Linked DNA regions of Homo sapiens: region 1 is linked to region 2. Evidence: promoter capture Hi-C in human tissues and cell types (Jung and others, 2019). All regions are on one chromosome and are shown on one strand. The core of a region is centred on a gene start or on the middle of the fragment in contact, and the rest is flanking DNA. Distances in the headings are between cores, read along the strand shown. Region 1 overlaps LINC02086 (long intergenic non-protein coding RNA 2086). Region 2 holds the start of GIP (gastric inhibitory polypeptide).

Region 1 (5,697 bases), core at 2,043-4,542, 310 kb after region 2:
ATGGCACTGCACTCCAGCCTGGGCGACAGAGCGAGACTCTGTCTCAAAAAAAAAAAAAAAAAAAAAAAAAAAAAGAAAAGAAGAAGAAGAACTATTGATTTGCCTAAATTCCCCATATTCATAGTGCCTGTTGCCCTAAAATATTCCACAATGGACATGTACTCTGGCCTAGTGAGTACTAAACAAAAACAAAATTAAGTTTTTGGCAATTACAACTGGCTTAACAAAATGAGAACCTGAGCCTTTATCATAACCTATTAAAACTGTTCACACAGATAAAACTAGGTATCCTGAGAGTGACTCTGTATAAAAAATAAATAAATAAAATGTACTAGGACCTTTTCGAGACAGGGTCTCACTCTGTGGCCCAGGCTGGAGTGCAGTGGTGCAATCTCAGCTCACTGCAGCTTCCCCTTCCCAGGTTCAGGTGATCCTGCCACCTCAGCCTCCCTAGTAGCTAGGACTACAGGCACACGCCACTTGTTTCGGCTAATTTTTGTATTTTTGTTTGTAGAGATGGGTTTTTTCCCATGTTTTCCAGGCTGGTCTCAAACTCCTGGACTCATGCAATCCACATGCCTCAGCCTCCCAAAGTGCTAGGATTACAGATGTGAGCCACCGCACCTAGCCATAAGCTCAAAACCCATTATATAAGACCTATTTAGAGAAGGGTGATTGTCCCCAGTTTTTCTCCACTCCAAATTGTCCTGGTCTTAAACCTAGAATGAATGAAGGATGCCTGATGGTGGATTACCACAATCATAATGCTGCAGTTCCACTTAAGAGTTCCTGGCACTCCTGAAACCCTTGAAATCTTTAGGCTAATATGTGTCTTTTGCATGCTAATGAAATGATTAGCTGGGAGTGCTAGATAGCTTCAAGATGGGGGCTGATGATCAGAAAGACCAAGGCATTAAAAGTTTGGAACTTTCAGGCTCATCTCAGACCTATGGGGCGGGGAGAGGGCTGGAGATTGAATCAGTCACCAATGGCCAATAATTTAATCAATCATGCCTAGGTAATTAAACCTCCATAAGTCCCTTCTACCCTACAGGGTTCTGTAAACACGTGGAGGTCCCGGGAGAGTGAAGCACTCAGGGCATGGAAACTCTGGGGGTACCCTCCTCCACCCCCGCTCAATACCCTTCCCTGGGCATCTCTTCCATCTGGCTGTTCCTGAATTGCATCCTTTATAATAAGCCAGTAAATGTAAGTAAAGTATTTTCCCGAGTTCTGTGAGCTATTCCAGTAAATTATGGAAACTGAGGAGGGGGTCATGAGAACACCCGATTTTTAACTGGCCAGTCAGAAGTACAGGAGGCCTGGGACTTGTGACTGGTCTCTAAAGATGGGGCAATCTCGTGGGAACTGATGTGAACTCCAGGTAGATAGTGTCAGAATGAAACTGAATTGCTGGACACCCAGTTGGTTTTCAGAGAGTTGGAGAATTGGTTGGTGTATTAGGTCGTTTTCAGGCTGCTGATAAAGATATACCCGAGACTGGGAAGAAAAGAGGTATAATGGACTTACAATTCCAAATGGCTGGGGAGGCCTCACGATCATGGCAGAAGGCAAGGAGGAACAAATCACATCTTACATGGATGGCAGCAGGCAAGAGAAAGAGAGCTTGTGCAGGGAAACTCCCGTTTTTAAAACCATCAGATCTTGTGAGACTTATCCACTATCATGAGAATAGCACAGGAAAGACCCACCCTCATGTTTCAATTACTTCCCACTGGGTTCCTCCCACGACATGTAGGAATTGTGGGAGTTACAATTCAAGATGAGATTTGGGTGGGAACACAGTCAAACCATATCAGTTGGTATAGGGGAAAAAACCCATACATTTAGTGTCAGAAGTGTTGTGAGTAAAAAACAGGCCAGCTTCTATACTACTAAAATTACTGCCTCCCTCCAATCAGCAACTGGCAAATACTTTGCTATCATATATTTGGGCTAATATGTTCTCTTAAGTTCCCGTTTCAGCCAGCTTGTCTTTACCATTGCATGGACACAATATACTAACTACCCATGGGACCCCCAACAGACCTGCCATTGCACACGATCTTTGCAAACAAAAACCTTAACTGCATCCAACTCTCTCCAGAAACACAAGTATGATGTTAGATATATGACATCCTTCTCAGAGGAAATTAATTTTTTAAAAAGACAGGGTCTTGAGGCCGGGCGCGGTGGCTCACGCCTGTAATCCCAGCACTTTGGGAGGCCGAGGTGGGTGGATCATGAGGTCAAGAGATCGAGACCATCCTGGCCAACATGGTGAAACCCCGTCTCTACTAAAAATACAAAAAAAATAGCCGGATGTGGCGGCAGGTGCCTGTAGTCCCAGCTACTCGGGAGGCTGAGGCAGGAGAATGGCATGAACCCAGGAGGCTGAGCTTGCAGTGATCCGAGATCACGCCACTGCACTCCAGCCTGGGCAACAGTGTGAGACTCTGTCTCGAAAAAAAAAAATAAATAAATAAATAAATAATAAAAATAAAAAGACAGGATCTTATGATGTTGCCCAGGCTGGAGTGCAGTAGCTATTCACAAGTACAGTCATAGCACACTGCAGCCTCAAACTCCTGGGCTCAAACGATCCTCCCCTCTCAGCCTCCTGAAGTAGTTGGGTGCAGTGGAAATTCATTTGATACACTAATTTAACGCATACAAACATTCAAAAGGCAGCTCATGAAAAAGGATGGGTCATTTCTTCCACACAAAGTACAAGGTACAAGCACAAGTATACCTCAGTAAAATTTCTGGGTATTACTTAGTAAATTGAGAGCTGTTTATCCTTGACATTTCTGACATTGTCAAGAAATCTCTATTGACCCTCTTAGCACCCACAATGCTAAAAGCCCAGTATCTTTTAGAACTCTGGGGGTTCTGAAGCAACATGTTCCTCCTTTGCAAATTTTAATTAAGACATTTTTGGTTTTTTTTTTTGAGTCAGAATCTCCCTCTGCCACCAAGGCTGGACTGCAGTGGCATGATCTTGGCTCACTGCAACCTCTGCTTCTCAGGTTCAAGTGATCCTCCTGCCTCAGCCTCCCAAGAAGCTGGGATAACACGCACCCACCACCACGCTCAGCTAATTTTTTTGTATTTTTTTAGTAGAAACGGGGTTTCAGCATGTTGGCCAGGCTGGTCTCGAACTCCTGACCTCAAGTTATCCACCCGCTTTGGCCTCCCAAAGTGCTGGGATTACAGGTGTGAACCACTGCACCCGGCCCTACTTAAGCCCATTTTTGCTGTTCCTTACAAATTGGTTCACCTGAATGGGGTCCACTAAAACAAAAGGCTTAAAACCTGTTCAAATTGCAAAAGGACAGACCCTACTGTTAGTGCTCCCCAGAAATTCCTTCACTGTAGAGGCTTTAGCAACCTCCTCTCATACTTCCAGAGACTGTTAGTGCTCCCCAGAAATTCCTTCACTGTAGAGGCTTTAGCAACCTCCTCTCATACTTCCAGAGTCTTTGGTTCACTTATGATGGCCATAAATAGTCTGTGGGTTTCCGATGCAAGAAATCGCCTTCCTCAGCCTGATGCTATACATTATTAGAGTGACAATAGCTGACTGCATACTGGACTCTTCCAAAAAAGGAGGCTCTTACAGGCCTTGAGACCATGACACACTAGCTGCCCGCTATGCCTTGGGCCATGGAAGGCACACCCCCAAAGCTTGGCATGGCTATTGAGGCTTCCTTGCTAAAATGAAAATAGTATCTACAGTATGGAGCCAAATCTGGGTCCTGTAGCATATCCTGCCTGCAGGAGGCCATGGGCTCCCCTGTCCTCAGTTTCTGGCCAGACACCACAGTGCTGAAGGAGGTCATTCCTCTCTCAGACCCCTTGGCTTCTTGGGGATCCCTTTGGGATCAACTGAGTGAACAGCAAAGGGAATTCACATACTTTAAAAATGGCAGTGCTACCGTCACAACTGATTCTATTTGTGTTTTCCATCCCTTAACAGACATCCCTGATAAAAGACAGGACCCAAGGGTCCACACAATTTGCCAAACTTCAAGCAGTCATCTTAGCAACAAAGGATGCCCTGCCCAATAAGCAACCCCATCTTAACATTTTTCAGACCCTTAGGCCATTGCCAATTACCTGGCTATCTGGTCTGACTAATGGCAACAACAGTTCTTTATCCAAGGTCATCCTCTTTGGGGTAAAGAACTCTGGAAATGTCTTGCTTGAAGATACCCAGAAATATAAATCAAGGTCAGATATATCTCTGCACATACTCAAGCCACAATACAAGGCCTCACCAAGATACTCCTTATCCCCTTCAGAGTTCCATACATTCTTGAGAGTGACCGAGGCATTCATTTCACTTCTCAAAATACATAACATTAGGCTCTTTAATAAGAAGGCATTGAACAGAAATTTTATCCCCCTTACTGGCCTCAGGCTGCAGGCCTCATAGAGTACCATCACAGCATACTTAAACAGGTTTAAATTTAATTTAAAAAAACAGGATACATTTCAGTAATCCATTAAACATCAGGGGTGAATTGTAACAGAATCCAATTCCATATTTGATGTTTGACCACTGACAGCTTTGAAGCCCCACAACTCCTCCTTAATCTTTTGCCCTCCATTTGGTAGACAAAAAAGCCTAGGTGTTTCCTCCCTTGGCTCCAGCAGGGAAGTTCAAACACTGGCCTGTGCATGGGAAAACCATGCCCTATCCCCAGCCCTTAACCTCAATAAGACCCAAGGCAACTTGCCCCTCCCTTGTTCTCAAGCCATTTTGGGGCCTTTTGGGGAGCCTGTTGTGCTCTGCCCAGAATGCCTCATGCCCTCTTTGTGTATATGTGGCATCATCAGTCTCCACATTCAAACCACATTTGGGTAGAGTTGCTGATCTTTGCTCTGCAGGGCAACCACAAACAACCAGCACAAGTGTCAAGAAAGGAAGCCTGAGGAACTATCCCAGATTAAAGGAGACTAAGAAGAAAAGACAATTAAAGGCAATAAGCAACCCTAGATTGAATACTGGTCAAGAAAAGGGGCAATAGTAGGACAATGGACAAAACTGGAATAAGGTCTCCAGGTGAGCTAATAGTATTGTATCAATGTCAATCTTTTAGTTTGGATGGTAGTTTTGTGGATGTTACCGTATGAAGAAATTGGGAAATAGGTTTATGGAAATTTTTTGGGCAATTTTGTAATTCTTCATAAGTATAATATTATTGCAAATTATAAAGTTTTAAAATGTTTTACCTTTAAATGACTATTTCAGACAAAAGCTAAAAGAAACTGTCGCCAGCATACCTGCAGTATACAAATGTTAAATATGCATATAAATATAAAACACCTTATTTCATTTTAATATATTTAAAAGACAATTTACTATTTAAGCAAAACATAATAGCAATGTACTGCAGGGCTCATAGCTACAGATAAATTATATGTCAGCAATAGCCACAAAAGAGAAGGAAATAGAAGTATACTATTGTATCACCATACATGAGGTAATATTCTTTTTATTTTATTTTTAATTTTTTTAGAGACAAGCTCTTTCTCTGTAGCCCAGGCTGGAGAGCAGTGATGTGATCGCAGCTCACTGCAGCCTCGAACTTCAGGGCTCAAGCAATCCTCCCCACTTAGCCTCCTGAGTAGCTGGGACTATAGGCACACAGCACTACGCCCAGCTAAGTGATATAATATTCTTTGCAGATA
Region 2 (5,290 bases), core at 1,273-3,772:
TGAGACTCCGTCTCTAAATTAATAAACAAAATGAAGTACATTGGCCTTCAGAGCAGCCCACCCCCAAAACAAATCCACAGAGTACAAGGCAGGGGCTCATGGCTGCTAGAGCCCATCACAGAGCCTTCCTTGACTCCAATTTGGCCCCAGACTCAGGGTTCCCAGGGAATGTTGTCCACTTTTCTTGGATACTGTTGCCTCCAGGCAGGAGGCAGATTTGAACACAAGCCCTTCTGAGCTCATTAACTGTGTTGCTCAGCAGAAAACAAGATCACAAGCAGCCCTCACATCTCCCTTGGAGGTCAAATCTGAATCGACGTCTAATCTCTGCCCATTGGTAGCTGGGAGATGGAATTTGGAGAGCTTGCTAAGGGAGGAGTTTTTCTAGATGGTGGAGAATGGGTGGGTATGCAGAGGAGGTTTCCAGGAGGCAGAGGTAAGTGACCCTGCTAGTCCAGGTACCTCTCATCCCACACGCACACTTAATTTCATGCTGGATCTGCTCCTAGGCTAGGGTGTTCACCTGGAAAGGAAGGTGGCCTTTATTAGGACCTGGAGCTGATAGGCAGAGCATGAGCTTGGCTGTTTATGGTCCCAAGTACCCATGGCGGCGGCAGAGGAGGAGCCTGGAAAGAACGCCTTGGAGGTCTGCCAAAAATGCAATCTGTGCCCTGCCCCTTCTAGACTGAGAGCCCCTGTGGACAGAGCCATGTGCTAAGTACTTGGAGAAAGGCAAAGGGAGTATCCCAAGGAGTCTCCAGTCTGAGGGGGAGACACAGCCCTTAGCCTCAGAAAGCCTCAGTGTGCTGGGGGAACATCGCCTCCAGCTCTCCTCCTCCTCTCAGAGAGCTCCCAGGCAGATCAGGGACAGAAAGCCCCTGCCTTGGAGTGGCTCCTGTATAATAGAGAGGCACAGCATAACTCCAGGGTCTTCACTCTGATAGAAGAGACAGGATGACATACTTCTCTTGTACAGGACAGTAGGACATATGAGGAGAGGGGCTCCTAAATCTCTATAGATAAAGTTGTAACTACCCCACCCTCCTGTGAGCCCCTGAGGTACAAACATGTCTCTTTCTCCTGCTTTATCCTGCCCCTGAGCAGGAAGACAGCTTGAATGTATGTTCTCAGTTTATCCAGCTGTCCCTAGGAAACCCCGATCCTTCATATTCCCTCAACATTGAGCCCTTGGGACACCTCTCTAGATAATGTGATGGGGGCATTGCCACATCACCAAAGCCATAGGCCACTGTCCAGAGCTGGGATTCAGATGACTGTGGACCTACTCTCTCCCACCCAGAAGTAGCCTGTTGCCTTGTGGGAGTGTCCCCCTGCCAGTTAGTGCCACCCTACCCCAAGTCTGTCTTCACTACAAGTACCCTTTTTTATTTTTATTTTTATTTTTTGAGACAGAGTCTTGTTTTGTCACCCAGGCTGGAGTGCAGTGGCACGATCTTGGCTCACTACAACCTCTGCCTCCAGGTCTGGGTTCAAGCGATTCTCCTGCCTCAGCCTCCCAAGTAGCTGGGACTACAGGCACGTGCCACCATGCCTGGCTAATTTTTGTTTGTTTTTTTTTTTTTTGTTTGTTTGTTTGTTTTGAGATGGAGTCTCGCTCCGTCGCCCAGGCTGGCAGGCAGTGGCGCCATCTCGGCTCACTGCAACCTCCGCCTGCCGGGTTCACGCCATTCTCCTGCCTCAGCCTCCCGAGTAGCTGGGACTACAGGCACCTGCCAACATGCCCGGCTAATTTTTTGTGTTTTTAGTACAGACGGGGTTTCACTGTGTTAGCCAGGATGGTCTCGATCTCGTGACCTCGTGATCCACCCGCCTCGGCCTCCCAAAGTGCTGGGATTACAGGCGTGAGTCACTGCGCCCGGCCCCCTTTCTTTTTTCTTTTCTTTTTTTCTTTTTTGAGAGAGTCTCTCTTTGTTGCCCATGCTGGAGTGCAGTGAACTCGATCTTGGCTCACTGTAACTTCTGCCTCCCAGGTTCAAGTGATTCTCTTGCCTCAACCTCCCAAGTAGCTGGGATTACAGCCGTGCACGACCATGCCCAGCTAATTTTTGTATTTTTAGTAGAGACTGGGTTTCACCATGTTGGCCAGGCTGGTCTCGAACCCCTGACCTCAGGTGATCCGCCCGTGTCGTCCTCCCAAGCGCTGGGATTACAGACGTGATTCATCGCGCCTGGCCTACAAGTATCCCTTCTAACTGAGGGCAACTGTAAAGGAAGTAGGGCATAGAAGAATAGTAGTGGGCCCTGTGCCCAGAAGGGAGGAGGAGGAAGAAAAAAGGGGGTACTTAGGGTACCCTACCCACAGGCAGGCCCCAGACAGCAGCTGGAGATAGCCAAATGTTAATCACCAATTAGCACAGTTCAGGTGGAAAGGGCAACTCTATTATGTGTAAAATGGACTTAATGTGGCAGGAGCTGTGGGCTTAATTTCTTGAGATAAGATGCTTTTAGGCTAATCAGCAGGTCTATGCCTAATATAAAGGAGCTGGGGCATGATTTCTTCAGCAGGCTCAGAAGGTCCAGAAATCAGGGGAAGGAGACCCCTATCTGTCCTTCTTCTGGAAGAGCTGGAAAGGAAGTCTGGTAAGAGAAGTGGAGACAGGGATGGATGAGATGACCCGAGAGCAGATGGATCTTGGCAACCCTGAGATGCTCAGCAGCCCTGGCATCTTAGTTTTCTCTTCCTCTATATGAGATGTGAGAAGATAGTCAGGTGCGGTGCCTCATGCCTGTAATCCCAATACTTTGGGAGCCGAGGTAGGAGGATCATTTGAGCACAGGAGTTCAAGACCAGCCTGGGCAATGGAGGGAAACTCGATCTCTACACATAATTTAAAAAATTAGCTGGGCATGGTGGTACATGCCTGCGGTTCTAGGTACTCGGGAGGGTGAAGTGAAAGGTTTGCCTGAGCCCAGGAGGTCGAGGCTGCAGTGAGCCACGATTGTGTCACTGCACTCCAACCCGGGTGACAGAGCGAAACCCTGTCTCAAAAAAAGAGAAAGAGAAATGAGAAGGTAGCGCTGATGTTTCCTTTATTTATTTATTTAGAGATGGAGTCTCGCTCTGTCACCCAGGCTGGAGTGCACTGGCGCAATCTCGGCTCACTGCAACCTCTTCCTCCCAGGTTCAAGCGATTCTCATGCCTCAGCCTCCTGAATAGCTGGGATCACAGGCGCGCACCACCACACCTGGCTAATCTTTGTCTTTTATGTAGAGACAGGATTTCACCATATTGGCCAGGCTGGTCTCAAACTCCTGACCTCAAGTGATCCGCCCACCTGGGCCTCCCAAAGTGCTGGGATTGCAGGCATGAGCCACTGCACCCAGCCTGGTCCATCTTTTGGTAAGATTCCATGTCCCTTCTAGTCACTAACTCCAGTGCACAGCACCCCTCATCTTCCCCCATGGTGTTGCCCCAGGCTCTTAGAAAAGGTCCAAACTGGCAAGGCGCGATGGCTCACGCCTGTTATCCCAGCACTTTGGGAGGCCCAGGTGGGCAGATCACAAGGTCAGGAGTTCGAGACCAGCCTGGCCAATATGGTGAAACCCTGTCTCTACTAAAAATACAAAAATTAGCCGGGAGTGGTGGCACATGCCTGTAGTCCAGGCTACTCGAGAGGCTGAGGCAGAAGAATGGCTTGAACCCAGGAGGTGGAGGTTGCAGTGAGCCAAGATTGTGCCACTGCACTCCCACCTGGACGACAGAGCGAGACTCCATCTCAAAAAAAAAAAAAAAAAAGAAAAAGGAAAAGAAAGGGTCCAAACCTCAGGGCTTTGCCCCTCTCCAGCTTTCAGAACCCCTACTGGTTGCTCTCTCAACATGTCCTGGCTTTTTTCTGTCTTAGCTCAGGAAATAACCTTGGAAGATGGTGGCCACGAAGACCTTTGCTCTGCTGCTGCTGTCCCTGTTCCTGGCAGTGGGACTAGGAGAGAAGAAAGAGGGTCACTTCAGGTAGGAGTGGTGAGAGGAAAGGGATGGGGCAGAGGAGGGGTTAGGGGATGACAGGTTCTGGATTTGTTTCTAGGGGGAGATGAGAAAGGGAAGGAATCCAGGCTAAGAGGTAGGAAGCTCCAGGGAAATACCTGCCGGCAGCGTGAGTGCAAAGTGAGCACTGAGCCAGAGAGGATTTATTGTGTGCTGCTGTTACAGTGGGAGAGACTATGGTTAGATCTCTGGCGGGACTTCCTGGTGGTTAATTGTCCGAAGATGACAGAATCTCCCTTCCCAATAAATGTTTTATTCATTTATGCATGTTTGCTTCTTTCTTTTCTTTTTTTCTTTTTTCTTTTTTTGAGACAGGATCTTGCCCTGTCGCCCAGGCTGGAGTGCAGTGGCGTGATCGCAGCTCACTGCAGCCTCTGCCTGCCAGGCTCAAGCATCTTCCCATCTCAGCCTCCCGAGCAGCTAGGACCACAGGCATGTACCACCACGCTCGGCTAGTTTTTGAATTTTTTGTAGAGATGAGGTTTCGCCATGTTACCCAGGCTTATGAATGCATTCTTTTTTTTTTCTATTCTTTTCTTTTTCTTTTTTTTTGGGGGGGGATGGAGTCTCGCTCTGTCACCTAGGCTGGAGTGTGGTGGCACAATCTCGGCTCACTACAACCTCTGCCTCCTGGGTTCAAGCAATTTTCCCTGCCTCAGCTTACCGAGTAGCTGGGATTACAGGTGCCCACCACCACACCCGGCTAATTTTTGTACTTTTAGTAGAGATGGGGTTTCACTATGTTGGTCAGGCTGGTCTCGAACTCCTGACCTTAGATGATCCATCCACCTTGGCCTCCCAAAGCGCTGGGATTGAAGGCATGTAATCCCTGTGCCTGGCCCTTTTTTTTTTTTTTTTAATTGGAGTCTCACTTTCTCACCCAGGCTGGAGTGCACTGGCGCGATCTTGGCTCACTGCAACCTCCGCCTCCCGGGTTCAAGCAATTCTCTGCTTTAGCCTCCCAAGCAGCTGGGATTACAGGCACCTGCCACCACGCCCGGCTAACTTTTGTATTTTTAGTAGAGATGGGGTTTCACCATCTTGGCCATGCTGGTCTTGAACTCCTGACCTCGTGATCCACCTGCTTGGACCTCCCAAAGTGCTAGGATTACAGGCGTGAGCCACTGCGCCTGGCCTGTATCATGTAGATGTTAAGAACATAGATCTGAGCCCAGATGGCCTGGGGTAAATCCTGGATCTGTTACCTATACGGAGTGGCAGATAATAAGACAATAATAAGGTAATCTCTGCACCTTGGTTTCTCCATTCACAAAATGGGGATATAA

The links. Contacts are between HindIII fragments. The study calls those that stand out against the background at their distance.
Region 1: a fragment that was not itself captured here is called in contact with the fragment with the promoter of GIP in region 2 in 1 of the 25 tissues and cell types used here (dorsolateral prefrontal cortex).

Annotation. Positions count from the first base shown.
Region 1 is chr17:48,655,240-48,660,936 of GRCh38, reverse strand. The region is part of intron 3 of LINC02086 (long intergenic non-protein coding RNA 2086); the gene reads right to left. Among named protein-coding and RNA genes, the nearest start is that of LINC03057, 11 kb to the right of the region's middle. The HindIII fragment of the contact is 5,644 bases long and covers 471-5,697 here.
Region 2 is chr17:48,965,828-48,971,117 of GRCh38, reverse strand. It overlaps GIP (gastric inhibitory polypeptide), which reads left to right and starts at 2,522. Exons shown (of 6, transcript NM_004123.3): 1 at 2,522-2,601; 2 at 3,865-3,971. The coding sequence starts at 3,886. RefSeq lists enhancers at 3,935-4,435, 4,436-4,936. The HindIII fragment of the contact is 44,226 bases long and covers 1-5,290 here.